2 separate regions of the Homo sapiens genome follow, and region 2 is linked to region 1. The links are contacts of gene promoters, found by promoter capture Hi-C in human tissues and cell types (Jung and others, 2019). All regions are on one chromosome and are shown on one strand. The core of a region is centred on a gene start or on the middle of the fragment in contact, and the rest is flanking DNA. Distances in the headings are between cores, read along the strand shown.

Region 1 (5,334 bases), core at 1,131-3,630:
ATGCAAAAGCAATGCTTACAAAGTTTGTTTATTTATTTATTTATTTATTTATTTATTTTGAGACGGAGTCTCACTCTGTCGCCCAGGCTGGAGTGCAGTGGCTCGATCTCAGCTCACTGCAAGCTCCGCCTTCTGTGTTCACACCATTCTTCTGCCTCAGCCTCCCGAGTAGCTGGGACTACAGGTGCCCGCCACCACACCCGGCTAATTTTTTGTATTTTTAGTACAGAGGGGGTTTCACCGTGTTAGCCAGGATGGTCTCCATCTCCTGACCTCGTGATCTGCCCACCTCGGCCTCCTAAAGTGTTGGGATTACAGGCGTGAGCCACAGCGCCCAGCCCAAAATTTATTTTTTAACATCATTTTTTAAAAAGTCTGTGGTGCACTTAAAACAACTATCCCCCAATTCCTAGTAAGGTGTCAGTTTTCTGCAAGTACTTAATGGTATCTGGACTAAGTGTACATTTCAAAACACTCACATTATGAGTTAATGCATTTGCAACAAACTTCTGAGTGAAGTCAGATATTGCCTAGGTTGCAAATAAAAAATGCAAAGGAGTGAGGACTTAAGACCTATTGAGTACCCCTGGAACCCTTAATGGTTTTCTTTGCTTCCTTTTCTCTCTTAATAGACAATCATCCCACCTAGGACCATACTAATCAAACAATACACAAATGTTTCATGTTAAGGCTCAGAATCATAGACTCATATAATCAGGAGATTGGAAGGAAACACAAAAAGTAAGACTTTTCAAGACAACCTCATTCACACTGTTTACTTGAATTATTTACTCTTGTTTTATTATTAATTTTTATGCTGTTCAATTGACTACAATTCAAAACCCAGTGTATTCATACCATGTGCTAAGATATGCTCCTTCCTATATGTGTTCCTCTAAAGAACCATCTGGATCTTGTGGGGGATATTTTCCTTTGTGGTATCAAAGCCAGGAGCTCGTGGTTTTCCTTTATTTTTTAAGGGAACACTATCATGTAGCATCTGGGACCAGAAAGAAATCTTGATGTTATATATTTTACAGATATTTTCTTTTTGGATTTTTTTTCCTCTAAGAGAAAAGCTTTTGTTAATGTGTCATGTAAAAATACATTAACTAGTAACTTGTCAAGAAGTGCTAGATTCCATTCTTGTGCGGGTCCATTTATATATGTTCCTGAACAGCTAATATTTCATTTAGTTTCCAATTAAACTTGCTCAAATACATTTTTGAAGTGCATTGCTTAAAATTTACATTCAAGGCAAGAAAACGAGTTTGTCAGTAAATGTAGTAATTAAGGAAGTCCCAAGTCTGTATTTTTAAGATACTAGAGGTAATTGTAACTAATCACTTTAACTTAAAGAAATAGAATTGGAAATACCCCCCTCCCCCCGCCACCCCCTACCAAAACCATACCTTAGTCACTTTGGAATTATAACCGTCTTTTACGTCTATCAATATAAATGTATTGCATTTGGCATTCAAATTACTTTCAAAGGGATAAATTTCGAATTTTTTTTTTTCATTGTAGCTTCTGATCTTTAAATGTACTGAACAGGAGGATTTGGGGAGCTTGTCTTGTCTGATAGGTGTTAAGTATCTATGACGACAAATTTGAGCTGAAGCAATGTGCAATATGGACTAGTAATATCTTCACAAGACTATTTTGGAAATTCTCACGTTGATGTTATTAATGACGTGGGTTTATTAGCATTTGGGTAATTAAGAAAAAACAGTACTAGAATTTAAAAAAAAGAAAAAAAAAGGTAAGAAGGGCGAAACAGAGTTCTCCACTCCTCTCCCAACCCTCATTCCTTTGGAGGCTCGCGCCCTCTTGGAATAGCAGGTTCCTGCATGTGCCAGAAATCCGGTCCCGGCAAAGCTAGACGCTCTGCAATGACAGGCGTTCCCAGCTAGGGACTCCTGGCTGCTTGGAGCTTGAAAACACCTGGCGTGGTTCTCGAGGGCCCTAGAGGCTCCTGCTACGGACTGGTCGGCTCTGGGGTTGTAGGCAGAAGGCTCTAAGCGGTCGGAAGGGTTTCCTGTGTGTCAGCAACTTCACTTTGCCGAGATAGCTGGCGGAAGAGGGAAGGAGCGCTCGCGGGCCAATCGCCTGCCAGCAGCCACCTTGGAGCGCACCCCTCTCCCTCGCCGCCGACTCCGGTAGCAGCGTGCCGGCAGAGGCTGAACACACTCGGCCTCGGCGGAGACCTGCTCCCCAGAAGACGCCTCCTGCTTCCCACTGCGCCCTGGAGGACGCGGGCTGGCTGCTGGGCGAGCTCGGCGGAGGCACGCCCCTCGCCTCCCCGCGGAGTGCGGACTCGCCCCGGTGCCCAAACTCCGCCCACCCTCTAGGGAGCTCCGCTCTCCCGCCTAACCCCGGCACTCCGGACAGAGCTGGGCCTGGGGAAGGGGTTCCTGAACTACGCGGACGCCGAACGGGACGCGCTGCAGAAGCGCACGAGTCTGCGGCCACGCGCGCTCCGATGGCTGCCAGGAGCTGAGCTCAGGGTGGGCGGAGGAAGCGGTTAGACGCCCCGAAACTGAGCTGCACGTTTCTAAGGTAGGGAGGAGGAAGATGCCCCCAATTAAGTTGATCTTTGAGCCAAGGAGGCTGGGGAGCAGCCTCCCCAAGCTAGAGCCCTGCAGAGCGAGTTTCCCTTGACCTCGCTGCGCCTCTGGCGCGCTCTGCAGCGCGGACCCGCGGCCCCTCGGGAAAGCGCAGTCGGAAAGTTATCCGCGGCGGTTCCCTGCGCGCCCTGTTGTGTAAGCTCGGCGTTGCCAGCGGACGGAGAAGTTGCTGGCTTGCCCGATAGCCCAGTTCGGTGGCGGCCCGGGGCGGATTTCATGGCCCGCGGCGAACGCGGGGCCAGAGCTGGCGTGGGCGAGCCCCTGCGCGCCCCCTCCCGCGGGGATCCAGTTCGCCTGCTCCCTTCCGCTCGCTGGCTTTTCCGATGCTTGCTGCGCCCCTGGCCGCCGCTGCCCTCTCGCCGCCTCCTACCCCTCGGAGCCGCCGCCTAAGTCGAGGAGGAGAGAATGACCGAGGTGCTGTGGCCGGCTGTCCCCAACGGGACGGACGCTGCCTTCCTGGCCGGTCCGGGTTCGTCCTGGGGGAACAGCACGGTCGCCTCCACTGCCGCCGTCTCCTCGTCGTTCAAATGCGCCTTGACCAAGACGGGCTTCCAGTTTTACTACCTGCCGGCTGTCTACATCTTGGTATTCATCATCGGCTTCCTGGGCAACAGCGTGGCCATCTGGATGTTCGTCTTCCACATGAAGCCCTGGAGCGGCATCTCCGTGTACATGTTCAATTTGGCTCTGGCCGACTTCTTGTACGTGCTGACTCTGCCAGCCCTGATCTTCTACTACTTCAATAAAACAGACTGGATCTTCGGGGATGCCATGTGTAAACTGCAGAGGTTCATCTTTCATGTGAACCTCTATGGCAGCATCTTGTTTCTGACATGCATCAGTGCCCACCGGTACAGCGGTGTGGTGTACCCCCTCAAGTCCCTGGGCCGGCTCAAAAAGAAGAATGCGATCTGTATCAGCGTGCTGGTGTGGCTCATTGTGGTGGTGGCGATCTCCCCCATCCTCTTCTACTCAGGTACCGGGGTCCGCAAAAACAAAACCATCACCTGTTACGACACCACCTCAGACGAGTACCTGCGAAGTTATTTCATCTACAGCATGTGCACGACCGTGGCCATGTTCTGTGTCCCCTTGGTGCTGATTCTGGGCTGTTACGGATTAATTGTGAGAGCTTTGATTTACAAAGATCTGGACAACTCTCCTCTGAGGAGAAAATCGATTTACCTGGTAATCATTGTACTGACTGTTTTTGCTGTGTCTTACATCCCTTTCCATGTGATGAAAACGATGAACTTGAGGGCCCGGCTTGATTTTCAGACCCCAGCAATGTGTGCTTTCAATGACAGGGTTTATGCCACGTATCAGGTGACAAGAGGTCTAGCAAGTCTCAACAGTTGTGTGGACCCCATTCTCTATTTCTTGGCGGGAGATACTTTCAGAAGGAGACTCTCCCGAGCCACAAGGAAAGCTTCTAGAAGAAGTGAGGCAAATTTGCAATCCAAGAGTGAAGACATGACCCTCAATATTTTACCTGAGTTCAAGCAGAATGGAGATACAAGCCTGTGAAGGCACAAGAATCTCCAAACACCTCTCTGTTGTAATATGGTAGGATGCTTAACAGAATCAAGTACTTTTCCCCTCTTTAACTTTCTAGTTTAGAAAAAAATCAAACCAAGAAAATAGTGAGTTAAAAAAATAATAGAAGTAGAAATGCCCACATCCACACTTAGCTTGTTTGGGTTTGCTTTCACAGTCTCTCTTCCTTCTGACTAGAAGTATGTATAATAAAACAATACTACCTAGTTAAACATTTACTTTCTCTTTTGCCTTTAAAATGTGCAGGCTTTTCTGTTTAAAGTGTGTGTGCACATGAGTACTGGGGCTGTTTTTGATATTAGTAATTTCTCTAAGAAAACTAGCCCCCTGCAACTTGAGTTTGTGGTTTATCTAGCCTTTATTGTTTTTTTAAAATCCACAGTAGGAATAAAAAATCTATATTCTCAGAAATATCTAGCATGGTATATAACAAAACACTAAACTCATCAGTTCATCCGGCATCAGATCAATGGATCTCTGAGCGGGGTGTTTTTTTCAGTGTCTTATAAGCATAGATGATAGTTGACTGAGTTTCTTTAGGGCATTGAATAGACAAGTAAAGCTAATGAATTTAAAAGCCTGAAAAGTGATTGTTTTCCAGTTATTTCTGGAAAAGGTCTCATTATATATTGGGTGCTAAATGTTTGATGGGGAAAGCCTGCATATATTATCGTACTGGTAAAATGCATTCAAAATAATTAAAGTGCATGTATTTTCCTTGTAAACACCATGAGCTCTCTTAGACATCTTGTGATAAAGAGCATTTACTTGCCCCACTGCTGTGCAATGCCTTAGGACTTTGTTTGTGTTCCAGGACAAGTGTTCACTCACATCTGTAAAAACAATTTTAAGAATTGCAAATAAATTACAGACCAAAGATTGAGTAAAGTCAAATAACTGTTAGTAAGTTGAAGGATATTGGACAGGAGGACAGTATTTCAGAAAAGGAGAGGTTGACAGTCATCCACAAGGCATAGCCTCCAAGTATACTCTCAAATGTATGAAGCAACTGGGGTGGGCAGAAGACATTTTAGAATGAGGGCTTTAGTTTAAATTAAAGTCATGGTGGAGAAGACTCTTGCTTCCTCCAAGTGTTTGAAAACACAAAATGCGATATGAAAAGAAGAAATAGAATTTGTATAGGTTGCAT
Region 2 (5,334 bases), core at 1,279-3,778, 300 kb before region 1:
ATTGGTGTGAGATGGTATCTCATTGTGTTTTGATTTTCACTTCTCTAATGATCAGTGATGCTGAGCTTTCTTTTATATGATTGTTGGCTGCATGTATGCCTTCTTTTGAAAAGTGTCTGTTCATGTCATTTGCCCATGTTTTAATCAGGTTGATTTTTTTTCTTGTAAATTTGCTTAAGTTCCCTATAGATGCTGGATATTAGACCTTTGTCAGATGCATAGTTTGCAAAAATTTTCTCCCCTTCTGTAGGTTGTCTGCTTAATTTGTCAATAGTTTCCTTTGCTGTGCAGAAGCTCTTTAATTAGATCTCTTTTGTCATTTTTTTGCTTTTGTTTTAATTGCTTTTTGTGTCTTTGTCATGAAATCTTTGCCAGTTCTTATGTTCAGAATGATATTGCCTAGGTTGTCTTCCAGGGTTTTTATCCTTTTGGGTTTTATATTTAAGTCTTTAATCCACCTTGAGTTAATTTTTGTATATGGTGTAAGGAAGGGGCCCTGTTTCAATCTTCTGCATATGGCTAGTCAGTTATCCCAGTACCATTTATTGAATAAGGAATCCTTCCTTCATTGCTTGTTTTTATCAGGTTTATCAAAGATCAGATAGTTGTAGGTGTGTGGCCTTATTTCTGGGTTCTCCATTCTGTTTTATTAGTCTATGTTTCTGTTTTTGTAACAGTATCCTGCTGTTTTGGTTACTGTATCCCTGTAGTATGGTTTGAAGTTGGGTAGCATGAGTCCTCCAGCTTTGTTCCTTTTGCTTAGGATTGTCTTGGCTATTTTGTGATCATTTTGGTTCCCTGTGAATTTTAAAATAGTTTTTTCTAGTTCTGTGAAGAATGTCAATGGTAGTTTAATAGGAACAACCTTGAATCTATAGGTTGCTTTGGACAGTATGGCCATAATGATATTGATTCTTCCTATCCATTAGCATGAAATGTTTTTCCATTTGTTTGTGTCATCTCTGATTCATTTGGCAGCATTTTGTAGTTCTCCTTGTAGAGCTCTTTCACCTCCCTGGTTAGCTGTATTCCTAGGTATTTTATTCTTTTTGTGGCAGTTGTACATGAAATTGCCTTTCTGATTTGGCACTTGGCTTGGCTGTTGCTGGTTGTTAGGAATGCTAGTGATTTTTTGTACATTGATTTTGTATCCTGAAACTTTGCTGAACTTGTTTATCAGCTGAAGGAGGAGCTTTTGGGCTGAGACTATGGAGTTTTCTAGATACAGGATCACGTCATCTGCAAATAGAGATAGTTGACTTCCTCCCTTCCCATTTGGATGCCATTTATTTCCTTCTCTTGCCTCATTGCCCTGGCCAGGACTTCCAATACTATGTTGAATAGGAGTGCTGAGAGAGGGCATTCTTGCCTTGTGCCAGTTTTCAAGGGGAATGGTCCTAGCTTTTGCCCATTTAGTATGATGTGGGCTGTGGGTTCGTTATAGATGGCTCTTATTATTTTGAGGTATGTTCCTTCAACACCTAGTTTATTGAAAGTTTTTAACATGAAAGGTGTTGAATATGATCAAAAGCCTTTTCTGCATCTATTGAGATAATCATGTGGTTTTTGTCTTTAGTGTGATGAATTACATTTACTGATTTGCATATGTCAAACCAACCTTGCATCTCAGGGATAAATCCTACTTGATTGTGGTGGATAAAATTTTTGATATGCTGCTGGATTCAATTTGCAAGTGTTTTTTGACAATTTTTGCATTGATGTTCACCAAAGATATTGGCCTGAAGCTTTCTTTTTATGTTGTGTCTCTGTCAGGTTTTGGTATCAGGATGATACTGGCCTCATAGAATGAGTAAGGGAGGAATCCCTCTTCCTCAATTTTTTTGGAATAGTTTCAGCAGGAATGGTACCAGCTCTTCTTTGTACATCTGGTAGAATTCAGCTATGACTCCATCTGGTTCTGGGCCTTTTTTGGTTGGTAGGCTATTTACTACTGATCAATTTCAGAGCTCATTATTGGTCTGCTCAGGGATTCAGCTTCTTCCTTGTTCAGTCTTGGGAGAATGCATGTGTCCAGGAATTTATCCATTTCTTCTAGAGTTTCTAGTTTATGTGCATAGAAGTGTTCATAATATTCCCCAATGGTTGTATTTCTGTGGGGTGATTGGTAATATCTTGTCATTTTTGACTGTGTTTATTTGAATCTTCTCTCTGTTGTTCTTTATTAGCCTAGCTAGCAATCTATGTATTTTACTATTTTTTCAAAGAAACAGCTCCTGATTTGTTGATTTTTTTACAAGATTTGAAAAGTTTATTATATGTAAGATATATGTTTACGGATAAGAAAGTCTCTAAAAACAAAAGAAAATGGAACTTTAAAAAAATTAGATTTTACATTTTTTACAACTCATTAATAAGATACCAAATTCAAGAGAGATTATAGTTACATTGTTAAATGTAATCTTCTTTGAATGAAAGCTAATAATAACTTAAACTGATGAATTACAAATACATTTATTTATTGGTGATTAGAAATAATACTTAAGAACTTCAGGGGCTTGAGTAGTAGTTTAAGCTACACAGAGCAAAGAAAATTCTTGTGTGTGTATATATATATATATACACACACAAAATATATATTTATTTATATATAAATTTATATAGATATTTAATTCCAGTAACATTTTCTTAAATTCCTGTTAAAAAATATTAAAGTCAGCAAAACGCCTTTGACTGATACCTGGATTATTTTACCACTTAACCTAGTTACACAGTGGTTTTTTTTTTCCTGTCATATGTAACTGACAACTAGCTTTGTCTTTAAGATAAATGAAGTGATAACACCTATTGCAGCATCTTGTGGAAAATATTCAAACTACATTTAAAATGCTTTTGTAAAATGGAAAAATCTATTTTTCTACAAGAAATTGTATATGTAAAACTATGGGTGGACTATGGTAATAGTAACTAAACTATATCTAACCCTGAAGGTAGAAAAATCCCTGAAAAGAAATACACAGCCTAGTTATAATATGGATTCATTGATCTTTTGAATAGTTTTTCGTGTTCAGTCTCCTTCAGTTCAGCTCTGATTTTGGTTATTTCTTTTTTCTGCTAGCTTTGGAGTTGATTTTTTCTTGTTTCTCTAAATTCTTTCAGTTGCAATTTTACGTTGTTAGTTTGAGATCTTTCTAACTTTTTAATGTGGGCATTATTGCTATGAATTTCCCTCTGAACACTTCCTTAACTGTATCCCAGAGATTCTGGTATGCCTTATCTTTGTCCTCATTAGTTTCAGAGAACTTCCTGACTTCTACCTTAATTTTGTTATTTATCTAAAAGTCATTCAGGAGCAGGTTATTCAATTTCCATGTAATTGTATGGTTTTGAGTGAATTCATTGTGCTGTGGCCCATGAGATTGTTTGTTATCTTTCAGTTATTTTGTATTTTCTGAGGAGTGTTTTCTTCTGATTATGTGATACATGAAAAACCATTCAAAAGATCAATGAATCCATATTATAACTAGGCTGCGTATTTCTTTTCAGGGATATATTTTAGGATATGTGCCACGTGGCAATGGGAAAAATGTATATTCTATTGTTTTTGAGTGGTGAGTACTGTAGATGTCTATCAGGTCCACTTGATCCAGTGCTGAGTTTAGGTGCTGAATATCTTCACTAATTTTCTGTCTTGATACTCTATCTAATATTGTCAGTGGGATGTTAAATTCTCCCACTGCCATTATGTGGGAGTCTAAATCTCTTTGAAGGTCTCTAAGAACTTTCTTTATGAATTTGGGTGCTCCTGTGTTGGGTGAATATGTATTTATGATAGATCATCTTGTTGAATTGAACCCTTTACCATTATGTAATGCACTTTGCCTTATTTGATCTTTGTTGGTTTAAAGTCTATTTTGTCTGAAACTAGGATTGCAACCCCTGCTTTTTTTCTATTATCCATTTGCTTGGTAGATTTTTCTCCATCCCTTTATTTTGAGCCTATGTGAGATGAATCTCTCGAAGACAGCATACCAGTGGGTCTTCATTATCCAACTTTCCACTCTGTGTCTTTTAATTGGGTCATTTAGCCCATTTACATTCAAGGTTAGTATTGATATGTGTGAATCTGATCCTGTCATCATGATGTTAGCTGGCTATTTTGCAGACTCGTATATGTGGTTGCTTCATAGTGTTACTGGTCTGTGAATTTCAGTGTGTTATGGTAGTGGCTGGTACATCTTTTCCTTCCATGTTTAGTGCTTCTTTCAGCTCTTGTAAGGCAGGTCAGGTGGTAGTGAATTCCTTTAGTATTTGCTTGTCTGAAAAGGATCTTATTTTTCCTTACTTATGAAGCTTAGTTTGGCCAGAAATGAAATTCTAGGTTGCAATTTCTTTTCCTTAAGAATGTTGAATATTGGCCCTCAATCTCTTCTGGCTGGTAGGGTTTCTCCTAAGTGGTTCACTTGTTAGTCTGATGGGCTTCCCTTGGTAGATAACCTAACCCTTCTGTCTAGCTGCTTTTAACATTTTTTTCTTTTATTTCAATCTTGGAGAATCTGATGATTATGTGTCTTGGGGATGTTCTTCTTGTGAAGCATCTTACTGAGGTTGTTGGCATTTCCCGAATTTGAATGTTGGCCTCGCTAGCTAGGTTGGGGAAGTTCTCAGGGATGCTATCCTGAAATACGTTTTCCAAATTGGTTCCATTCTCCTCATCTCTTTCAGGGACAACAGTGAGTCACAGATTTTGTCTCTTTACATAACCCCGTATTGCTTGGAGGTTTTGTCTAGTCCTTCTCATTTTTTCCTCTATTCCTTTCCGACTGTCTTATTTCAGAAAGCCAAGCTTCAAGCTCTGAGATTCTTTCCTCTGCTTGATCTATTCTGCTGTCAATAATTATGATTTCATTATGAAACTCTTGTAGTGTGTTTTTAAGCTCTATCAGGTCACTTATGTTCTTTCCTATATGGCCATCTTGTCTCTCAGTTCCTGCATTGTTTTACAATTTTTAGCTTTGTTGGATTGGGTATCAACATTTGGTACTCTTGCATCTCAATGATCTTCATTCCTATCCATATTTTGAATTCTATTTCTGTCATTTCAGCCATCTCAGCCCTGTTCAGAACCTTTGCTGGAGAGGTGACACAGTCATTTGGAGGAAAGGAGGCACTGTGGCCTTTTGAATTGTCAGGGTGCTTGTGCTGATTCCTTCTCAACTTTGTGGGCTTAGCTACCTTCAATCTTTGAGGTTGCTGACCTTAGGATTTTTATTCTTTTATCCTATTTGATGACCTTCAGAGTCTAATTGTGGTATAAGGTGGATTCAGCCAACTGACTTCATTTCTGGGAGATTTTAGTGGGGCAACACTCAGTTC

Evidence for each region. The method cuts DNA at HindIII sites, captures the fragments that hold promoters and counts their contacts. A contact is called where the count stands out against the background at its distance.
Region 2: a contact is called between a fragment that was not itself captured here and the fragment with the promoter of P2RY1 in region 1, in 1 of the 25 tissues and cell types used here (heart right ventricle).

The regions. Positions count from the first base shown.
Region 1 is chr3:152,832,751-152,838,084 of GRCh38, forward strand. It overlaps P2RY1 (purinergic receptor P2Y1), which reads left to right and starts at 2,381. Exons shown (of 1, transcript NM_002563.5): 1 at 2,381-5,334. The coding sequence starts at 3,033. The coding sequence ends at 4,154. RefSeq lists silencers at 2,288-2,337, 3,050-3,344 and an enhancer at 2,518-2,617. The HindIII fragment of the contact is 5,667 bases long and covers 1-5,334 here.
Region 2 is chr3:152,531,810-152,537,143 of GRCh38, forward strand. No RefSeq gene overlaps it. Among named protein-coding and RNA genes, the nearest start is that of MBNL1-AS1, 260 kb to the left of the region's middle. The HindIII fragment of the contact is 4,058 bases long and covers 500-4,557 here.